Linked DNA regions of Homo sapiens: region 2 is linked to region 1. The links are contacts of gene promoters, found by promoter capture Hi-C in human tissues and cell types (Jung and others, 2019). All regions are on one chromosome and are shown on one strand. Each heading gives the region's core, a stretch centred on a gene start or on the middle of the fragment in contact. The rest is flanking DNA. Distances are from core to core; before and after follow the strand shown. Region 1 holds the start of ERLIN1 (ER lipid raft associated 1). Region 2 overlaps DNMBP (dynamin binding protein).

What was found. The method cuts DNA at HindIII sites, captures the fragments that hold promoters and counts their contacts. A contact is called where the count stands out against the background at its distance.
Region 2: a fragment that was not itself captured here is called in contact with the fragment with the promoter of ERLIN1 in region 1 in 2 of the 25 tissues and cell types used here (H1 embryonic stem cells and thymus).

Annotation. Positions count from the first base shown.
Region 1 is chr10:100,183,801-100,188,798 of GRCh38, reverse strand. ERLIN1 (ER lipid raft associated 1) reads left to right here and starts at 2,770. Exons shown (of 11, transcript NM_006459.4): 1 at 2,770-3,285; 2 at 4,962-4,998. The coding sequence starts at 3,173. CHUK (component of inhibitor of nuclear factor kappa B kinase complex) reads left to right here. Exons shown (of 21, transcript NM_001278.5): 21 at 1-499. RefSeq lists an enhancer at 2,403-2,552 and a silencer at 2,723-2,872. The HindIII fragment of the contact is 5,345 bases long and covers 1-4,473 here.
Region 2 is chr10:99,910,055-99,915,052 of GRCh38, reverse strand. The region is part of intron 4 of DNMBP (dynamin binding protein); the gene reads left to right. Among named protein-coding and RNA genes, the nearest start is that of DNMBP-AS1, 15 kb to the left of the region's middle. RefSeq lists enhancers at 532-1,154, 1,155-1,777. The HindIII fragment of the contact is 4,920 bases long and covers 44-4,963 here.

The DNA.
Region 1 (4,998 bases), core at 1,521-4,020:
AATTTATAAAGGTCTGCACTCCTTTATCTGTAATTGTAATTCCAAAATCCAAAAAGCTCTGAAAACAAGGTTTCCATAAGCTTGGTGACAAAATTCATTTGCTTGCAATCTAATCTGAACTGACCTTGAATCTTTTTATCCCATTTAGTGTGAATATTCCTTTATTTTGCTGCTTGATGATGAGAGGGAGGGCTGCTGCCACAGACTGTGGTGAGGGCTGGTTAATGTAGTATGGTATATGCACAAAACTACTTTTCTAAAATCTAAAATTTCATAATTCTGAAACAACTTGCCCCAAGGGTTTCAGAGAAAGGACTGTGGACCTCTATCATCTGCTAAGTAATTTAGAAGATATTATTTGTCTTAAAAAATGTGAAATGCTTTTATATTCTAATAGTTTTTCACTTTGTGTATTAAATGGTTTTTAAATTACTTTCTTGATCTCTATTCATTATAAAAATCAGATTATAATAAAACAGTTGAATATGGCTTAGGAAAATATGAAGGTTCCATGAAGTGGAATTAAGAGCATAGAATAACTGTACTTTCCTTAGGAATAATAGGACTTATGGTAAAGGTAGTATTGGGCAACTTCTTTAAGAGTGTTTTCCTCTGAGATGTCCTATCACCACTATCTACATCTAAAAAACATGCTCGATTCTTGCCCTATAAACTGATGTCACAGCCCCACCATCCCCATTTTTGCTAGTGGTATCATTTTCCTAGTCAACCAAATTTTTTAGTCATCACATATCACTGTTCGTCATCTATTATAATAGGCAGTCTCTCTCTTGTTTCCCTGGTTTTAGAAGATTTTAGTAATAAACATTTATTGGGTACCTGTTACTTGGAGGGTATTAAGCTAGATGGCAAGATCTGAAACAACATAGGCAGTATAGTAAAAGTGCTTATCTGGGAGTCTGAACATTACAAGCCATCCAAGCATTGCAATTATTGTTAAGGATTATTTTCAATGGTCATGCATTTTCTAATATTTTAATAATTGGTTAAAGATTTGTTATAGCGTGGGGGCCGCTGCTGGTGTGTGGCTGGGGTTATGTCAGGGCAGCCTGATCTATATAATTTGGGCAGATGGTGTGAGTCAGAACAGACTATTATAGTGGGATCCCCAAACTTGCTTTTGATGCATGAGTTGGACCACTATTTTTTGGTGGGTAACAACTTTTCAGAGGGGAATGGCAGTTGTGAATTGTATACATTTCATTCTTTAAGCAATATTATGAAAAACTTCAGAGAATGTCTACAGAAAACAGGGTATGGAGCAAGTTATTTTCCATTCTTTTTGCTTTTTGGAAGTTAAAATAGCTAAGCTCTGCAAATATCATTTATTTGGAACAGATAAGGTCCCAGACATTCCTAGATAATAAAAATCAAATGAATGATACAGGTAAGTGTATTTATTGAAGGGTGTGGGTAGAGTGGTCTGGGAAGTCTTGCTTTAATGAAGACGGATTGATTCTATTTACCTCTTCTTACTTCCACTACTAAGTAACCCTGGGCCTGCAGTTTCCTAACCACTTGACTTCCTTGCCAACAGTCTGTCTCCACTTTCAGCCGTTTTATAGATTCATTGGCCCTAAAGCACTGCTTTCCCATACTTCCCTACCCAAGAGGGCAGGGGTCCCCAAGCCCTGGGCCGCGGACCGGAACCAGACAGTGGCCTGTTAGGAACCAAGCCGGATAGCAGGAGGTGAGCGGCGGGCGAGTGAGCATTATCGCCTTGAGCTCTGCCTGCTGTCAGATTAGCGAGTGGCATCAGATTCTCATAGGCACGCGAACCCTATTGTGAACTGCACATGTGAGGTTTGCCGGCTCCCTGTGAGAATCTAATGCCTGATGATCTGAAGTGGAACAGTTTCATCCCCAACCCACACACACCCCCACCCCGTCCGCTGGGTTAGAGGACTTTACAACCCTAGTCCACCTTGTCCAGTTATAGTTCCACCTCTAGCCTTTCAAGGCTTAAACCATTAATGTCCTTAATTTCTCTTGTATTCATCTATCTCCCAACTATACCTTTTTCCTTCCCTTTTTTATTTTTGGCAATATGTGCCCATGGTTTTTTAATTTAAAACGAACAGAATATGTAGTGACGCCTACCATAGCACTCCTTCCCATCACACAAGCCTTCAAGGAAACTGAAGTACTTACTTTGGTCTCCCTGGAGGATTCCCTCCGCCTCCCGCCCCATGTGCTTAGCAATTCTGTTCCTGTAGTCTGGATGGCCTTCATAAAGCCCTCACTGGACCAGCATTCTGGCACATAATAGGAACACTTAAAAAACGAGAGAATGATGCCGTTATATCTAATATCTTCCTCTTCTGAACTTTCACAGCACTTTATTTGCAACAAGTTTAGTTGCTCCTGAAGGGCAGGATCTCTGCCGGAAGCAAGTGCGTGCCACACAGTGGGGCTCCGCATACACTGCAAAAGGACAAATAAACCGAACAGCTACCGTTTGAGAGTGAGCGAGTGGGTTCTCTGCACAAGAACAAACCAACCAGTCCCTTGTCCGAAAGGGCGTCTCCTTTTCTCTGCTTCGCTGCTCACTCCAGACTGCGGGCTGTCCTCTTCCGAAGCAGTTAACCAGCAGTGTACAGAAAGCGACTTGCCTCCAAAGGAGCCTGCGCGGCCCGCGGCTAGGAGAATTTTGTCCCATGCGCTCCCCGTCTCACTAGCCGCGGGCCGGGGCTACGCCGTGTGCGTCCCCGCGCAGCCGCAGTGCTGGGCGAGTGGGCGGGGCCGGCTGTTGGCGGCGGTTGGCTCGGCGCGGGAGTCGGCTGCACGTGCGGGCGGGGGCGATGCGTCACTGATCGGTGAGGCGCGGCCGAGGGGTCGGCTTTCCTCGCGAGCCTGCGGCTGGGCTTCTTCTCAGTTAGTGCCTTCCACCCGGGAGCGACCCTTGGGAGAGGGAGTTTCAGGAAGCTCACCGAGCAGGGGCGGCCCACTGGCCTCCGGGGGCGGAGGAGTTGGCAAGGGGTCAGCGGGCTCAGCCAGAAGGGAAGAATGAGGGGACAGGGGTACTGGACTCCCCGGCTCAGCCTGCGAGAGAGCGCCAAGTTTCCGGAGGGAGAGGGTAGAAACTGGAGGGGGTGGACCTGTCACTCACGGGACTGAGGGTCCTTTTCTCCCGCTCCCAGGAGGAACGAGAATGAATATGACTCAAGCCCGGGTTCTGGTGGCTGCAGTGGTGGGGTTGGTGGCTGTCCTGCTCTACGCCTCCATCCACAAGATTGAGGAGGGCCATCTGGCTGTGTACTACAGGTGAGCGGCATGTGCAGTCAGTTAGGGCTCTAGAGCAGATTAAAAGGGTACTCCAGAGTGGAGTCTGGGAAGTTGTTCCCTCTGCAACGTTCGGGGGCGCATGTCCCATCTCTAGGGAGAGCACGGGGGTCGAAGCGGGCTTTTGCGGAGCACCCTCCAGATGTTGGACAGTTTTAGTGCTATGTTCGTTTTGTTGCAGAGATTAAGTCTCCCTACGGTTATTCCTATACACAGCAAACTCAATTATTTGTAGAAAAATGAAGAAGGAAGAAAGGAAGTAGTCACTCTACCTCTAACTGAAGAGATGGATAAATTATAGTTCGTTCAACTGTACAGGCTTTAGTTTGCCGCTGTAGATGCTGTATGTTTATGGTTGTTTCTTAGACTTTTTCATTTAAAAGCTTCCAGTGTCTGGTTACGTCTTGTAACACCATGATGACTGTGATGGTGCTTATGTCCCTGGACCTCCAGGGACATAAGCACAACACTGATGGGCCATGCTCCTCCCTCCTTACTGTTGCTGTTCAAGTTGGGGACAGGAGTGGTGTGGGAGCTGTTGCTCTCTTGTTGAGCTCGCTTAGCTTTTCCTTCAGCCTAATTACCACAAGTTCCTTTTGATACAGACTAGTAAGAGAGGCCAGTTTGTGGAGAAATTGGGATAATGGTGTATTCAAAAAGAGCGTCAACTTTTTGCTTGTTTCCACTATCCCTCAAAACTGATATTTCTACTTTCAAATCCATCCTGAATCCTAGAAAAAGAGCAATTTTAATGGTATATCTTAGCAGATGGAGCTCTACATAAGAAATTACAGATTAGTCCAGATTTCCTTCCAGTTTAAAAGCATTGTCTTTCTGACAGTAAAACCAGAGAAAGGACATTTCAAGGAATGACTCAAAGAATTAGTAATGAACCTCAAACAGTTCATCTTTCCTTGTTATTATGACCTTGCAAATGTGTTTATATTTTCAAGACCGGTAGCTAAGTTCTATGAATTTACAAGGTGCAAAATAGGACTTTGTTTTCTTTGCTCCCCAAATGCCTCCTTTTTATAATTTCCAGGGCTTGCTTTCATAGTTTTCACATTCCAGGATTTGGTTAACAAGCCCTTATGCTATTTATTTGTATAGTCTTGTCACCCTTCATCTTTTCATGCTAATTTTTTGTTTTTATATAGAAATTTTATGTTCCCAGTATTTTAATTACCTTGTAGATAGATCGAAAGAATTATAAGCCTCAGAAATTTTCTCTTTACTTCAAAGTTTGCATTGTCTTTTTTTCAACCTGGTGATTAAATGTATTATATATTTTGATTTGGCTCTTGTTATGTACTATTAATGTACCTCTACTGAAAGCCATTAGAATTTTTTAAACAAATATTTCTCAGAAGGTTAAAGACCGAGGAGAATCCTTTGAACCTTAGAGCAGTGCTGGAGACCCAGAGGTACGGTTGGTTGAGCTTATGAAACAAGGTGTAACATTGGCAGTTTAATTTGATCTTTTTCCCTTTTTAGGTGTGGAGGTATTTTAAGCAGTTGTTCATTATGAGCAATTCATATTAGTGAGGCTTTAGTAGGTCAGCAGCATGAGCAAGAGTGAGTATTTATTATAGCATTTTAGATTTGGAAAGATAATTTTTCTTTTTATAATTTTGTCAAATTGAAACATCTTTTTGCAGGGGAGGAGCTTTACTAACTAGCCCCAGTGGACCAGGC
Region 2 (4,998 bases), core at 1,254-3,753, 270 kb after region 1:
GTACGATCTCGGCTCACTGCAGCCTCTACCTCCCAGGTTCAAGCGATTTTCCTGCCTCAGCCTCCCAAGTAGCTGGGATTACAAGTGTGTGCCACCACACCAGGCTAATTTTTTTGTATTATTAGTATAGATGGGGTTTCACCATGTTGACCAGGCTGGTCTTAAACTCCTGACCTCAGGTGATCCACCCATCTCGGCCTCCCAGGGTGCTGGGATTACAGGCCTCACGTGAGCCACTGCGCCCAGCCTATATGTTTATATAGAAATATGTATGGGTTTTTGCAGATTTTCCTTTCTTTCGTCTCTTTTCCCCGTTCTCCATTTTCTTACAAAATTGTGCATTTTCTTAAAAAATTGTGGCATATTGTTGTGTGCCTTTCTTCTCCCTGGTTCATTTAAGTGTAAATGTTTGGAAGATGTGAGCGGGACTCCCAGTTCCTGTGAATCACTCCTGCCATCCCTGTTCTTGCTGTCCTGGGACTACCCAGCTGAAATCTGCTCTGTGATGGCTTTAGGGTTCATTGCCTAAAGGAGGGGGAGGTTTGGGGTCCCTTGGCTAAGCTGTGGGTGAAAGACTGCATAAAGAGGCTCAGGAGCAGACTAAACAGGCAACTGCTGCCCACTTCACAGTTTTGCCTCTCATCACAAGAGATGGCTGGGCCTTTGGAATTCTTTCCTCAAAAGGGCATTCCCCATTTCCCACGCAAAACAACAACAAAAAGGCTTAGCATGGGGTAGAAAAGGAAGAGATAATAATCTTAGATTCAAACTCCAGAGGTGGAATTTCGAGGGTTTTAGGACTAGGAAAGAACACCAAATAGAAAGGAAGGTGTTGATCCAGGTACTGCTGGGCCCGCTGGTGCACTTCTCAGTCCAGTACGCTTAGGGTTCCAGCTCCATCCTTTAGGACAAGCCCTGCTGTGATAGCCCGGGTGACTTGCGCGATTCATATGTAAATGTGGGAAGCCTGGGGGAAATGCCGACCCTATTCAAAGGAGTTTGGGGGGTTGTGGAGCATTCCAGAGCTCTGGGAAGATTCTGTCCCGCCTGCTTACCCTCAGGCCCACACCTCCACACACAGCCAGCTCTGGGCACTGCAGGTAGGTCCTGGGGTGTGGGAGCCAGCACAGAAGGAAGTGGAACAGGCAGCCTCTTCGTCCCTGTTCAAGGGCACCTGGGATCTGGCCGGGAGCTCAAAATTTTCCCCATTAGAGATAGATCCAGCTTTCTGAGGCAAGGGAAGGGCGCATGGCTCTGCTCTTTAACTCTGAAGTGTGTGTGATGGAGTTGTGGGAAGCCGTGGGCTAATGACTCCCTTCCTTCGAACTTTAGGAAGTGAGCCTGGTGATAATGTACTAACCGGAAAGGGCTGGGGGTGTCTTGAGAAGGAATGGAATCAGGACTTGGGGTGGGGGGTAAGCCACAATCACTGAAGGAACCCCACAACTAATTGTTTTATCACAGGAAGTAAATTTGTGCAACAGTCCCAGCTCCTTTAACACCTGCCGGGCTATCCTAGGAAGAAAGTAAGAGCTCGTCTGCACATTTTATTGTTCTCATAGAAAAGTGGAATTTTAGAGTCTGCACAGGGCACTTTTCTGCTTGGTACATTTTACCAAGTGTATTTACCATCTATCAGGTGCAGATGGCATATTCGGGCCCATTGTGGGAAAAGGACTTATGTTTGTTGGGTTATTACCTTGTTTAACTCCCTCAACTACTCTGCAAAGCAAGTATTATTATCCTCATTTTATAGATTGGGAAATTGAGGCCAAGAGATAAAAGTGGACATTTCCAAGGCTCCCCAGCTACATAGTGGGGAAGTGCAAGATTCAAAGCTTCTTTTTCCACCACAGCTGGCTGGGGGTGAAGGCCGCCTTCTCCCGCTTTGTTGTCCGGGATACTAAAAATTTAATTTTTTTAGAGACGGGTGTCTCACTATATTGCCCAGGCTGGTCTTGAACTCCTGGGCTCCAGCAGTCTTCCCACCTCAGACTCCCAAAGCGCTAGGATTACAGGCATGAGCCACCACGCATGGCCCAGATACTAAAATTTTAGAGCAGATATTTTTATTAGAATATATGTGGCATAAAGGAAAAAGTTTTTATACTTACAGTCATTTCAAGCCAGACTTTAAAATTTGACTTAATCTTTGAAAACTCTCTTTGAGTGTTAATAAATGTTTGTGGCACCTGAAGGTCACCTGTGTCTTCAGAAATACCTTGGGTTGCCAGGAGCAGTGACACATGCCTATAGTCCCAGCTACTTGGGAGGCTGAGGTGGGAGGATCGCTTGAGAGCCCCAGGAGTTTGAAACTAGTCTGGGTAACAACCCCCTCCTTTAAAGAGAGAGGAAGAGAAAGAGGAGGGAAGGAAACACCTAGGGTTTTATTAAAATTGCGGATACCCCGGTCCCACCCAGGTTTGCTGAATCTGAATCCCAGGGATGGTGTCCAGGAAACTGCAATATAGTGAAAACATCCCACAGGGGTTTTTAATCACACCAAAGTGTTTGGGTTTTTAAAGGCTGCTCAAGAGTTTATAAACCCCATTTTCGGGGGGTGGGGGCACAGGGGAAGGCACGCTGGTAGTTTAAAAGAATTGTTATTGTTTTTCTCCATTTTAAAGAAATAAAAATCTAATACATAGGCTGGCTGGCTTCTGATTGATGAGTAAGTGCTTGCTGGTACTTTGTGTTTTCAACTACTATAATTAGTAGAATTTTGATTCTCAGGAGAGTACACAGTGGTTTCCAGGGAGTTTTTAAGATTTGAAGCAAATAAGCCCCTGACCTTTTCTCATTGAGATTCCAGGCCAGGGAAACCAAATGGTGCAGGATTAAGTGCACAGGATTTGGATTTAAATATATTTAGGTTCTAAATCCACAACTGCCATTTACTCACTATATAACCTCAGACAAGTTTGTCAGCCTCTCCAAGCCTGGATTTTCTTACCTATTAAATGGGAGTAATAATACCTACTTAAAAATTCTGATGTGAGTATTAAATGAGTTCAGGGATATAATCTGTAAAGTACCTGGCATGTGATAGGAATTCAGTAAATGTTCTCCCTCTCCAGAGCTTTTTAGTCTTGTATTTAAAATGAGTTTCTATTCTCAACTTGGCACTAATGAGACCATATTTGGGATTGAAAGTCTGTTGCTTTGAGATCACAAAGAAAATTTAAAACAAGCCTATTAGAAATAAATTTTATATGTAACACAATGAATTTAGAATCATAATCGAACACTGATGAAATCAGGGTTATGCTTCAAGTTTTGCCATTCATTCTACCAAAAAGTTCGAGAAAGAGCTTTTTCTGTTATGTCTTAAGTTTTATTTTGAATAATACCAAATATACAGAAAATTGCAATAGTACAATGAAAACTCCTGTATACATTTTATACAAATTCACCCATATTTAACATTTTGCTGTTTTTATCTCATTCTCTGTCAATCCCCACTCTCCACATGCAGTTTTTTTTTCTTTAATGAACTAAGAGTACATTGCATATATTGTGCCCCTTAGTAAGCTTCAGTGTGTATTTTGTATGAACATGGATTTTTTTTTGAGATGGAGTCTTGCTCTGTTCTCCCAGGCTGGAGTGCAGTGGTGCAATCTTGGCTCACTGCAACCTCTGCCTCAGCCTCCTGAATAGCTGGAATTACAGGCAAAATACAAATTTTTGTATTTTTAGTAGAGATGGGGTTTCACCATGTTGGTCAGGCTGGTCTCGAACTTCTGACCTCAGGTGATCTGTCCGCCTCAGCCTCAGACTCCCAAAGTGCGGGGATGACAGGCGTGAGCCACTGCACCTGGCCAGATTTTTTTTTTACTCAGGCTGGAGTGCAGTGGCATAATCTCAGCTTACTGCAACCTCTGCCACCCAGGCTCAAGCCATCCTCCCACCTCAGCCTCCTGAGTAGCTGGGACTATAGGTGTGTGCCAGTCCATGTGCTGCTAATTTTTGTATTTTTTGTAGAGGTGAGGTTTCACCATGTTGCCCAGGCTGGTCTTGAACTCCAAGCTCAAGTGATCTACCCACCTCGGCCTCCCAAAGTGCTGGGATTATAGGCATGAGCCACCACACTTGGCCTAAAATGGTGATTTGCTGACTCCATTATTTCTTCTCTTATTTATCAGCTGACATTCTACCATAACAAAGAGTTTTCTCTTCTCCCCCATTTATTTATGTACTTACATATTATCAATATGTACTTACAGGTTCTTATTCAGTGGAATAATCCATTGTGCTTTTTCATTTATACTCAAATTGTGCCAGATTGGCCAGTGGGAGCCCCTTCAAGCTGGCCTCTGTGCCCTTTGACCTATCCCCACCATGTTGTTGAGTACTTCTTCACTTTCTCCCACATTTCAGGCTCAGCTATACCTTCTCTGCCCCAGCCCTGGAATTAGCCATTTCTTCAAAGAACCCTGCCTCCTTTTAGTGGAGAATGGCATCTAGAAACCAGAATTTGGGTTGTATTCTAAAACACTGGAATTACTTTTTTGAGACAGGGTCTTTCTCTGTCACCCAGTCTGGAGTGCAATAATGGCACTATCTCGTGTCGCTGCAACCTCTGCCTCCTGGGTTCAAGTGATTCTCATGACTCAGCCTCCCAAGTACCTGGGATCACAGGTGTGTGCCACTATGCTTAGCATTTTTGTATTTTTAGTAGAGATGGAAGCTTGCCATGTTGGCCAGGCTGGTCTCGAACTCCTGACCTCAAGTGATCTGCCAGCCTTGGCCTCCCAAAGTGCTGGGATCATGGGCGTGAGCCACTGCACCCGTCCCAGAATTCCTAACTTCTGAGAGAAAGCAGTGTGGAAAGTGTTTTGGAGAATAAAATCTGCTGTGAAGGCCGACTTTCCTTAAGTAGTTTGAACACTTGTGTTTTTGCTTCTTAAACCTGGGTTAAAATAGTCCTGTAATTGTACTCAGACTTACTAGTATATTTACATACCAAATTTGTAGTTGTTTAATTGGATCATAAAGAAT